Regions from separate parts of the Homo sapiens genome. Here region 1 is linked to region 2. The links are contacts of gene promoters, found by promoter capture Hi-C in human tissues and cell types (Jung and others, 2019). All regions are on one chromosome and are shown on one strand. The core of a region is centred on a gene start or on the middle of the fragment in contact, and the rest is flanking DNA. Distances in the headings are between cores, read along the strand shown. Region 1 holds the start of EGFL7 (EGF like domain multiple 7). Region 2 holds the start of SNAPC4 (small nuclear RNA activating complex polypeptide 4).

The links. Contacts are between HindIII fragments. The study calls those that stand out against the background at their distance.
Region 1: the fragment with the promoter of EGFL7 here is called in contact with the fragment with the promoter of SNAPC4 in region 2 in 1 of the 25 tissues and cell types used here (mesendoderm cells).

Annotation. Positions count from the first base shown.
Region 1 is chr9:136,660,643-136,665,850 of GRCh38, reverse strand. EGFL7 (EGF like domain multiple 7) reads right to left here and starts at 2,935. Exons shown (of 11, transcript NM_016215.5): 1 at 2,743-2,935; 2 at 2,228-2,443; 3 at 1,066-1,159. The HindIII fragment of the contact is 17,984 bases long and covers 1-5,208 here.
Region 2 is chr9:136,396,950-136,402,844 of GRCh38, reverse strand. SNAPC4 (small nuclear RNA activating complex polypeptide 4) reads left to right here and starts at 2,675. Exons shown (of 24, transcript NM_003086.4): 1 at 2,675-2,711; 2 at 4,408-4,546; 3 at 5,822-5,868. The coding sequence starts at 4,417. ENTR1 (endosome associated trafficking regulator 1) reads left to right here. Exons shown (of 10, transcript NM_001039707.2): 10 at 1-923. The coding sequence ends at 57. RefSeq lists silencers at 2,228-2,277, 2,428-2,637, 2,708-2,837, 2,908-3,017 and enhancers at 1,526-2,462, 4,192-5,391. The HindIII fragment of the contact is 18,374 bases long and covers 368-5,895 here.

The DNA of each region.
Region 1 (5,208 bases), core at 1,686-4,185, 260 kb before region 2:
GACCCCGGCGCGCCCCGCTCGCTCCGCACTCACCGCCGGATCCGGGGCGCGCACGCGCCGCCGCCACTGCCGCCCGAGCCCGCGCCGTGGGGGCCCCGAGCCCCGCCCCGCCCCGCCCCCGGCCCCGCCCCACCTGGCGGCCCCGCCCCGCCCCCATTGCGCAGACGGGGAAACTGAGGCCCCGCGGCGGACGAGCTGCCCCCGGGCGGGCAGTGACTCTGCTGGAACCCGGGGCTGACGCAAACGCGCCTCTGAGCCGCGGCCCGCCAGCACCCCCTCCGGGAATCCTGGGGCCCGAGTCCCCGCGGCAGGGCGCTCGCTGCGCGGTCGCTGGGGACGCACGACCAAGCCCGGCCGCCAGGAGCCAGGAGAGGCCGCCCAGGGCGCCCACACTGACGGGGCTGCGGGCCCTTTGCTAGCTTTCAAGCCCCCCAGGCTGAAAACCACCCCGGGACGCCCATCTCAGCCGCTGGGGGGCCGCGCGGTAGGCGCCCGGCGCAGGTTAGCACTGAGCTGGGTCCTGCAGCCTCGCAGGCAGTGGGCATCATGACCGTCCCCACCGCAGGCCCAGAGACCCAGATCTCCTCTGAGACCACATGGCAGAGCCCAGGCCTGCCTCCTAGCCTTAGCGTGTTAGGTTGGGGGCCCCTGCGCCGGCCCCCACCTGGCCCTCTCTCAGGCATCAGGCACCCTCACCGGGGTCACTGGGTCACTGCTGAGTTCAGCACAGTCAGGGCCATCGCAGAACACTCCTCCCAGCGAATCCACAGGCCCCCAGAGAGTCTCCTCACACCAGAGGTCCCTGGGCTGGTCACCTCTCTTCTCCAGGCCTCCATTTCCAAATTTATAAGATGGGGCTAAACAGCCCTGGGATCTAGTGACGGTGAGGTCGTGGCCACACAACAATTGTTACAGCTGTTACTGCGGGCGCGGCACGTGGGGCTCGGGCCAGCCCAATTCAGCAGCCCCTCAGACCCCAGCCGGAGCCAGCGCCCTGTGTCATAACCCGCGTGGGCGCCGGTGTGAGAAGTGTTCCCTCGGAGCAAGGGGTTTGCTGGGACTCACCTGGCGGAGGAGAATCAGTCATCCCCCGGACAGGGGCAGGAGCTGCTCCTCCGGGTGGTGGGGGCCACCTGTGCCTCCCCGGTCCTGGGGGCTGCTGGTTGGAGAGGAGTTGTGGGTTAGTGCCTATGCACAGTCCTGGTCACCCTGATGTCTGGGGGCTGGGAAGGGGCCCGGGACCAGCTTTCGGTGCTGCTGTGGGACCTCCGCCTGCACTAGGCCTACAGGCCCCTGTCCTGCACCTACCCCGACCCCATCCTGTCCTGAGCTGATTGTCCTCTCGGATCCGCAGCCCCTGGCCTCAGTAAAATGGGGTTATTGCCTCCAGCCCTGGACTCCCTGGCATGGGGATGGGAGGCTGCTGTGAGTGGAGCTGGAGGTCTCTCCATGTAACCCAGGGTGCTGGGCAAGGGGCCTGCAGATGGGTCCGAGAGGGCCACCAGCTTGGTCCTACCTTGGTGCATGGGAGCTGGAGGAAGGGAGGGGCCCAGGTCCCTGGAGAGGAGTCCCCAAAATGAGGCCGCCCCACCCTGCAATCCAGTGGCCACTGCTCTGGACCAGGGGCCCTGGAAGCCCCTGGCACGTGGTCCAAGGGACGACCAGAGCAGCTGCTGTCAGGGGGCGTTCCTCATCTGACTGGGGAGTCCTAGGCCTCCTGGCGCCCTGAGCCCACGCAGGGCAGCTCTTACCTAGCCCCCAGCAGTGAAGTGTTCAGAGTGGGGCCTAGGGGGCCTCTGGGTGGGAGAGCCACCGCCACCCTCCCTGTCCCCTGCCCCTGGCCTCATCTCTGGATCTGCGGTCACTTAACCCTTTGACCTGCCTCCCCACCTCTCCTGCCTGAGTCTGGAAGAGGCGATGGAGCAGAAAGGGCAGCTCCAGGGCTGCCCCGACTCAGCCCTCGCTGCCCCCATCCTGGCTAGGCACCATTTGGAAAGTGGGGGTTCTCAGACAGGCTTCTTGGTGTGGACGTATGAGACAAAAAGTGGGGCCTTCTAGGACCCACTGTGGTTTTGGGGGCTTTGGGATGGGGCTTCAGCCACTCTGCATGAGGCTGGGGAGAGGGAGAACAAGGGCGTCTCCAGGGTCCAAGGGGGGCCCACAGAGTCACCCATTTGCCCACCGCACCCAGCAAGTCATCCCTAAGCCCGAGCCCCACGTCCCGCACCCTGGATTCACACTGCTCATCCTGGCTACAGATGTGGCTTTGGGGTTCCTCTCCCTCGGGGCCAGTTCCCCTCCCCGGGCCCCCGTTGGGTTGCTCATCCACTGCTAGGGAGAAGATGAGGAGACCTCAGCCCTCGGGACACCGCAGGGCGTAGCGCGAAGCCCCTCACAGCGGGCCCAGCCAAGCTGAACTTTGCTGCCAACCACAGGGGCTGCTCTGCGGAGGGAGAGAAAGGCCAGAGGGTGGGGTTCAGGGGAAGGGCGACTGGGGGTGAAGTGTTGGAGTCAGCAGACTGGATTGGGATCTACGCTGGGCCACCCACTAGCAGGCGTTTGGCCAAGGGGCCTCAGTGGCCTCCTCTGTGCAGAAGGGGAGGAGACTGGGACCCCTCCCCTGTGACCTCGCTGGGGAGCAGATTGCGGAGCAGCCAGCAGGCGCCACGGTCAGCGGGAGTGAGGGGAATGGGGGGCCCGCCCTGTCCGCTCCCTGCCCCTCCGAGGCCACCCCTGCCATACCTGATGCTGCTGGAGCCCAGGCGTGGCCATGGTGGCCGCTGCTGTGTCCTGGGACTGGAGATGGACCCTAGCCCTTGCTGGGGCCTCAGGCCCACTGGCCGCCTGGAGGCACCTCCTGAGGCCCACCTGCCTGGCCTGTCCACAGGAGCCTCCCTTGCAGCCGTGCAGGGCCAGCTTGGTGCAGGGAGGCTCCCCCCGGGCGAGGAAGGGCGGCTTTTTATGCTCCGTCCTGGGTAATCGGGATTGGGATGGGCCCTTCCCAGCCGGACTTCCTGTGTGTGTTCTCCGCTGATAACGGGGACGTGTCGTCGGACAAACAGGAGGCTGAGGGGGGTGGGGGCCACCGTGTGAGGGGGCCTGGACAAACTGCCCAGGGGTGGGGAAGCCGTCCCCTGGGCCATCAGAGTCTAGCCCCAAAACAGCCAGAAACCAGGGCTGGACCCTGCTGGAGACCCTGGGGAGAGTGTGGGGTGGAGGACGCAAGCCCAGGGCCCTCCCAGGACCGTGGGTTCACAGGCCATGCTCACGTGTGGCTGGACAGAAGGGAGCTGCTGCATCTTTGGGCCAAGGATGCTGGGCCCTCCCCCAGGACACCCCCAGATGTGTGTGACACAGCACGGGAGCTTGGAGGGGCCCCAGGCCAAGGCAGGGACCAGCCACACAGGAGCCTTGACCAGTGAGGGATGGCGAGTGGCGAGGCCCGGCAGGAAGGGACTGGGGTGGCAAGACAGGCTGAGCGGTCCGAGAACAGCCTGTTCCGTGGGTCCCTGAGGCCCATGGTGAGGGGGTGACGGGAGGGGACAAGCATGGAGTCCAAGCTCTCTCCCCTAAAAGAGCTGCCAGTGAGGCTGTGAGCCCCTGCCCTGGAGATGGGCAAGCAGGCCCAATGCCCTCAGCCCCACTTCACAGGGGTGCTCTGGGCTGGCAGCAGGCTGCGGCCGGGGGTGTGGGGAGGGATGCGGGACACTGTGGGTGATCACAGGGGGTGCTCTGTCAGATTCCCGGCGTCCCAGCCTCCAGGTCTGACCCTCATCTTCCCTGTTCACACGGCAGTGGGAGCCTCAGGCCGAGCGAGCCACTGTGGCAAAGGTGGGCTGGGTGGGAGGGGACACGGTGCCGAAGGGAGCTGGGTGGCTTTGGAGGGCACGCCTGGAACCCCAGGAGAGCAGGGCCTCTCCCAACCCCGCTGTCCGTGGGGTGTGAGCCCTGCTTTGGGGTCAGCCCCTGTCGGCCTGATGCCTGGGACACCCCCATTTCCCTGGCCCTGGGCGGTCAGTGTGCCCCCACCTCTCCAGCCCCACTCAGCTGGGCAACTTGAGCCAAGGGAGGCTGGGGCAGCTGGGGAAATTCCCCACGGGACTTTGGAGGGCAGGTGGAAACCTCACCCACACGCGATGCGCCTCCCCCTCAAGCAGGAACCAGCTCCCCTCTACCCACGGCCAGGGGAAGGGTCTGCTCTGGGCGCCAGGCTGTGGTCAGGGCTCAGGGCCTCAGCCAGGCAGGACCTCACTCTTCTCCGGGCCTGTTTCTGCACCTGCTTCATGGTCACTGAGCTGGTTTAAGGGGGCGCTCCTGGCACCCAGGCACCGCTGGTCTGAGCGGGAGGGGCCTCTTTCCAGAGGTGGCCCCTGCCCTGAGGTTGGAGCAGATAGGCAGAACCCCATTTCCCCACCTCCTCCACACTAGGCCACCCTGGGATCTGGCCCTTACCCTACTGGCTGCACCCTCAGCCGCCCTGTGCCTCCCTCGGCCCCCTGGCTCTCCCACCCAGGGGCTCATCCTGCCCTGGCCAGCCTGTCCCTCCAGCTGTCAGGAGGGGGTTGCAGTGAAGAACAAGTTGGCAGCAGGCCGGGCCCAGTCCCCCAGGCTGTCACCCAGGAGTCCAGTGCCAGGAGGACAGCCTGGGGAGGACCCAGACTCTGCCCTCGCCCCTGGCTGTAAGCACAGCAGTCAGTTCACCGGGAAGGCCCCCAGCGGGCCAAGCCTTAGCAACTCGTGCACTCGGCTACTTAGCTACTCCACCGTATAGGGGCCCAGTAGGCTTGTGCCCCCATCCCAGGAGGTGCCCTCTTGCCCTCTGCCTGCATCCCTGCGGCCTGCCCCCTCCTCCCCCACCTGCATGCCCCTGGATCTGCCCTGGCCTCCTGGTGGAAGGACCCACAAGCATGGGGTGGGCTAGATCCAGCCCTTTCTGTGTACAGAGGGGGAAACTGAGGCCCAGAGGGAGAAGTGACCGGCCCAGGTGAGCCTGGAGGCCGGACAGGGCTGGGATGCTCGGCACAGGAGGCTGCCTCACCCTTCCTTCCTCTTCTTGGGGAGCCCCATGTCCCCCACCCCAGCTTGTCCTATGTCCCAACCTGGAGCAGCCCCTGTCATCAGACCTATCCGGCCAGGGGACAGCTCGGGGCAGGAATAGCTAAGTAGCCGAGTGCACGAGTTGCTAAGGCTTGGCCCGCTGGGGGCCTT
Region 2 (5,895 bases), core at 1,426-3,925:
ATCCTTAAATCTATAGACAGAATTTCTGAAGTTAAAGACGAGGAGGAAGACTCTTGAGGACCCCTGGGTGTTCTCAGCATGAAGCTCCGTGTATACCCTGAGGTCACCACCGCTCGATCTAAATGTGCAGTTGTGTCCTTAAATATGCAGTCTTCACCCAGAGTAAAGTGTTGATCGCAAGAGTCCAGTGTCGTGCCCTCAGCCAGTTCTTGGCCACCACAATGGGAGCAGCCCTGGCCGAGTTGTCTCTGTGGTTTCTATGCAGCCCTTCTTGGCGAAATTCCTGCGATCTTATAGATTCTAATGAGCTCTTGGAAGACATTGTCATAAAAGCCAGTGATTTTAAGAAAAAGAGTGGTTCTGGAATCAATGTTTTCCAGTCCCATCCCAGAACATCAGTTGTAAGATAAGTACAATTGGTTGTCCTTGATTTCATAAGTAGAACAAACACTAAATGTGCCTCTGAGATGGCCACCCCGGGCAGGGACCTGTGCCTTCCGCCGATGCTCAGGGCTCCCTCTGGCTCCCGGGTCACTCTTGTGGCCCCAGTGGGTGGTCCCTGCAGTCATGGCCTGAGTGCGCAGGGGCCACCGCGTGGCTGCTGCTGTCCTCCTCCGGGACCCACGGGGACCAAGGTCACACGTTCCGTGCTGTGAAGCTGTCCAGATGTGCCTCTTTGGCTGGGGGTTCTGGTGGACGTTTCAAGTGGCATTTTGTACAATGCAGGTTAGAATTCAGGAATTTCAAGTATGTGCCCGGGTCTGTCAGGTCCCAGTTGCCTTTCTGACGGCCCCCCTCAGAGGGACGGCGATGAGCACTAAATGCTTTTTTGACTATTTTCCTATAGATTTTTTTTAAAACTTTTTTTTCCTCCTGTTCCAATTGATAGCTTTCTTATTTAATAAATTCTGTAGTTCACCGCACTGTCTCTTCTCTGCTGACTTAGCCAGTCCTTGGAGAACGCCGTGGGCTTCCACACCTCACTTGCTCTTGCCCTAACTGGTGCCTTGTGCTGGCAGATTCTCTCCAGGTCCTCAGCCCTTGGGGTTAGGGGCAGACTCAGACCACTGCTGCCTGGGCCTGACCACTGGGACCCACACGTGATGGACGTGTGAGTCACGCAGCTGCACGTTTCAGAGCTGGACAGACTGGATTCTAGCATTGGATCATCTTTTCGGATCATGTGGTTGAATTTTTCAAACAAGGCGTCTGAATTGCTAGACCCCTAGCCTTAGCTACAGGTGAAGGCCAGAGCTTTCCAGCAGTCACTGTGGAGCGGTCCTGCTGCGTAGCCCTATGCGCCTCCTGCTCCTGCTGGTTGGTGAAAGCAGGCTCTGGATTCTGTTGGCAGAGCTGACTTGAGACAGGGTGCTGTGGTTGGGAAGTGCCGGAATGAGGTTCTGAGTGTATAGGCAGCTCTGGGAGCCCTGTAGCAGCAGGATGGGGGCATCTGGGGAGGATGCCTCAGGCCACAGGCCTTCCCTGAGGCCCTTTGGGAGAGACAGCATTTGATGGGGTGGGGGTCACAAAGGCCAGATCGCCAGGCGGGTCCCATCCACCAGATGCGTGTGAAGTGGGGTGGTCCCCTGGCCCTCATGCCAGCAGCTCATGGAGCAGGTGGGGCCCAGGGAAGCGCGGTGGGGATGGGCATGTGGGTTTTGCGCACCCCTCTCTTTTGATGTCTGTGTTTGAAGCGTTTGATAGTAAGAAGTTTAAAAATACAATTTGTGGCGCGGTATTTAGTGCCTGCCTTCTGCCTCCAGATTTCAAGCCCGATGCAGGGACTGAAACGAGGCGCTCGAGGAGCCCCCAGCCGCCTGGTTCCATCCCCTCCATCTGTTTCTTGCCAATCCCTAGCTCCCAGTTTGGCCTCACCTGGGCCTAGCCCTTTGCCACCAAAAGCCCACCTCCTAGGTAGGCAGGGCAAACCCTCTTTATAGTTCTCCAGCTGATGCCCCTAGCTCACCCCAGGCTGGAGTGGAGGCCCCCTCAACTGGCTGGGCCCAGGATGTCTTTGCAGCACCGATACTTAGAAGCTCTCAGGAGCCAGGAACTGTAGGCCCCTGCCCAGCTCCCGGCCGAGTTAGCCCTGGCACGTTCCTGAAGGAATGAATGCCCACTTAGGGGAGGGCCCCGGGGCAGCTCTCCAGGCCAGGAGACCCCAGAGGGTGTGCACAGGTGACCAGGGAAGCGAGTTTGTGTGGTGCGGGCCCCCACCCTCTGGCCTCAGTCTCCTGCACGTGCCTGGAGATCGGCCTGGCCTCGGCGATCCTGAGCATGCAGGGCAGGCTGGGGAAAAAGCCTTTCACGTAGACTTTCTCATCCGTTGCTTAACCAAACCCCAACATGTCCGTTAACAGAGGATGAAACAAGCACAGAGAGGTCCAGCGATGGCCGAAGGTCACAGCCAGTAAGGGCCGGTCTTCCGGATCGTGACCAGGTGGCCGGGTGCCTGTCCCTGTCTGTCCCCTGCCTTGAGGTCCCGCGTCCACCCGCGCCCCTCCAGAGCGCGCGGAGGCGGCCCCCAGGGCGGCCGCGCGAGGGCAGCATCGAGCCGTTCGCCTCTCTAGTCCCGGCAGGCCGCAGCGGCCGTCCCGGCGTGCCCCGCGCCTCAGGAGGCGGGACTTCCGGCGCGCGGCGCTCTTGTTCTGCAGCCGCCGGAAGCGTCGAGTCTGCAGTCGCCCGGGCGACGGCGGGGTCCGCGCGGCCAGGTAAGGTGTGCGCCCAGCAGGTGAGGCGCGGGTGGCGTCGGCAGCTTCAGGGCTCTCCCCGTGGAGGGGGCGCTGTCCCGAGGAGCGGATAGCCGAGGCCCGGGACGGGGGCGGGGCAGCGCCCAAAGTCGGGGAAACTGAGGCCCGGCGTGGCCCCCGTCCGGCCGAGCCTGGGCGCGCGGGGATTCTGGCCCTGGGAGCCCCTCGGCTGGGAGCGGGCTGCGGGCTCCGAGGAGGCTCCGGCGGGGCGGCCCCGGCTGCAGGGCGCCCGCGTGCGTCTCGGGGACTGCGCCGGCGATTCCGCGGTGGCCGAGCCTCGGAGGGGGTTTCCCCAGTTCACGCAGCGAGCAGGAGGCGGAACTGGGCCTGGGCCGGGTCTGTCTCCCAAGCCAGTGCCTAAACGCCCATCGTCCTGGCGCATCCTGGGGTTCCCTGGGCCCAGCCGAGTCTGGGTGGCGTCCCCGCAGCTGGGGCTGGAGGGACCGCCTGCTGCGCTCCGTCTTGGTGGGCAGCCCTCATGACCAGCCCTTGGGAGAGGGGTGCGGGGAGAGGGACAGCCCCTGATGTCAGTGGCTCAGCACGTGTGACTTTGACCTCCTTCCTGCTGATCATTGCTCACCTGAGCGACACGGGGAGGGGGAGGCAGCAGCCTCGTGTGAGGCTTCCAGAGGAAAGCGTCTCCGCCGGCCCGGAGGCGCTGAACCAGCCTGCGGTCGCTGCCAGCTCTGCCTCTGGCCGGCTGTTAACTGAGTTTACAGGTTCACAAGCATTTCGGGCATAAACAAGGGGCTTTGTGAAGGAGTGAGGGGACCTGGGCTGCTGATGCGGCTAACGGTGCTCGCGGGTGGATGCTTTGGTTTTGTTCCAGTTGGGCAGGGCCCCAGTCAGCCTCCAGCAGGGAGAGCCACGCCAAGGACGGGGGAGGGCGTTTCTCTTTGTTGTTGGGTGTTTTGGGCTCCCGGGTCTGTGCTAGTGATTCCTTTAGATTTTCTCTGCTAATGTTTCATTCTCCCACTCTCTCTCTAGCGTCCTTCTCCCTTCAGACTTCCTGGACCACAGTTCCTAAGAAAAAAGCTTGACAAACATTTGTTAGTGTCAGGCACTGCCACGTTCCAGGCGTTGTTCTGGATGTACAGAGAACAGCCAGCCTTCCCTTTGGGAGCTTCCTTCCCAACCATGCTGTTAGTGCCTGCCACCTGGGCAGTCTCAGTGTGTGTCTCTGTGAACGTTTCTCAAATGCCCTCTGTGGTCCGGCTCTGTGTCATGGGAGAGCAGGATGGCCAAAGTGGGTCACGGGCTGTGTCCTTGCCCTGTAGTGACTTTGCCACTGCACCCCACACCTTCTACGCTGGGTGGCCAGTTTCCATGTGGCTTGGTGTGGGAGCAGAGACGGGACAGTGGGGCCTGTCCTTGTTCATCCACTCCCTGCCTGTGCTGGTTGCAGCCTCAGAGCAGGCGGGAGATGTTCTTGGGGCTTAGGCTCCTGGCAGAGCACATAGCAGGAGTTTGTGGGGTCTGAGGTTCCTGTCCCAGGGTTCCCCGATTCTGTGCCTGGCCTATTAATCTTTCTCTGGGGAGCCCAGTGCCCACTGCCGAGCAGGCTCCTGCCATCCCCCATGGGCGGGTGTGTCTGAAGGAGAATGGGATCCCGGCACGGTCTTGGTTTCTAACATCTCGGGGTGTGTTTTGGAGGCAGGCGGGAGTCATGGATGTAGATGCTGAAAGAGAGAAGATAACACAGGAGATCAAGGAGCTGGAAAGGATTTTGGATCCCGGCTCCTCGGGCTCCCACGTGGAGATCTCAGAATCAAGTCTCGAGTCAGATTCTGAAGCAGGTAAGCCCCTTGTACCTAGCCTCCTGGGGTCCTGGTAAGAACAGCTGGTCTGCCTCCTGGGTTCCTCTCAGGCACATTAGGGAGTGATGGTAGCCGGGTGTGGTTTCTCAGGCCTGTAAACCCAGGGACTCCTGAGGCTGAGGTGAGAGCATTGTTTGATCCCAGGAGTTCATGTCCAGCCTGGACAACGCAGCAAGACCCTGTCTCTAAAAATAATAATAATAATAATAAACGATGGCTGGTGCTGCTTGGACCAGACCCAATTTTTTGCCAACACTGGTGTCTTTCTGTACTCCAGCCAGAGAGCTTCTGACAATTCCTCCTTTGCTAGCCCCTGAACCAGCTGGCTGTGTGTGTACACTGGGCTCTAGGCATCCCAGGGTCTGGGCCTGGCCTCCTTGGGCCTGTGCAGGGCTTCTGGAGTGGACCATCCTGGGAGGAGGGGGCAGGCCTGAACCTCACCAGATGGCAGTCTGGACAGTCCATGCCTGGATGGTCAACACAGCTCACACCCCTAGGATCTCTTCTTCTCACATGTGCCCCTCCCCACGTGCTCCCCACCCCAAGTGCTCTCCTCCCCACGTGCTCCCCACCCCACGTGCTCCCCACCCCACGTGCTCCCCTCCCCACGTGCTCCCCTCCCCACGTGCTCCCCTCCCCACGTGCTCCCCACCCCACGTGCTCCCCTCCCCATGTGCTCCCCACCCCATAGGCTCCCCACCCCACAGCCTCTCCTCCCAACATGCTCCCCTCCCCACATGCTCTCCTCCATGCTCCCTTTAGCTTCTGAGCCTACCCCAACCCCACCAGCTGCTGCCCTGACAGGAGACCCCCCCAGCCTTGCTTCCCACCTCTCCCAGACCCAGGGCCTGCCTCTGAGGCAACCTGCTATCTTTCTCCTGTGGTGAGGGCCTCTACATCCGTGCCTCCCATCTGACCGGCTAAGCTCCTGAAGGAGAGGTCCGTTTTCTGCTAAACTTTCCCTGTCTCTCCAGTAAAGATAGCTTGTGCCATCCAGTGAACCCTGTGTAGCTTTGTCCTGTGTGCCTGGAGGTCCCCAGTGTGTGGTCAGAGTTTTCTCTATCTGGCTAACCCGGCCTTGGTCCAGTGCCCACCCCGCTGTCAGGGAGGGAAGGTCCGCTCACCGCCAGCCTCAGCCTGAGGCGCTGTCACTACCTCACAACCCCAGGTCTGCCCAAGAAGCAGTGGTGAGCTGCGCCCCCACCCTGCCCAAGACGCTGGTTACCAACACGGTGTTGCTTGTGTTTCTGACAGATTCACTGCCTTCTGAGGACTTGGATCCTGCCGATCCCCCGATCTCGGTAACTGTTGGCCTGATCTGGCTGTGC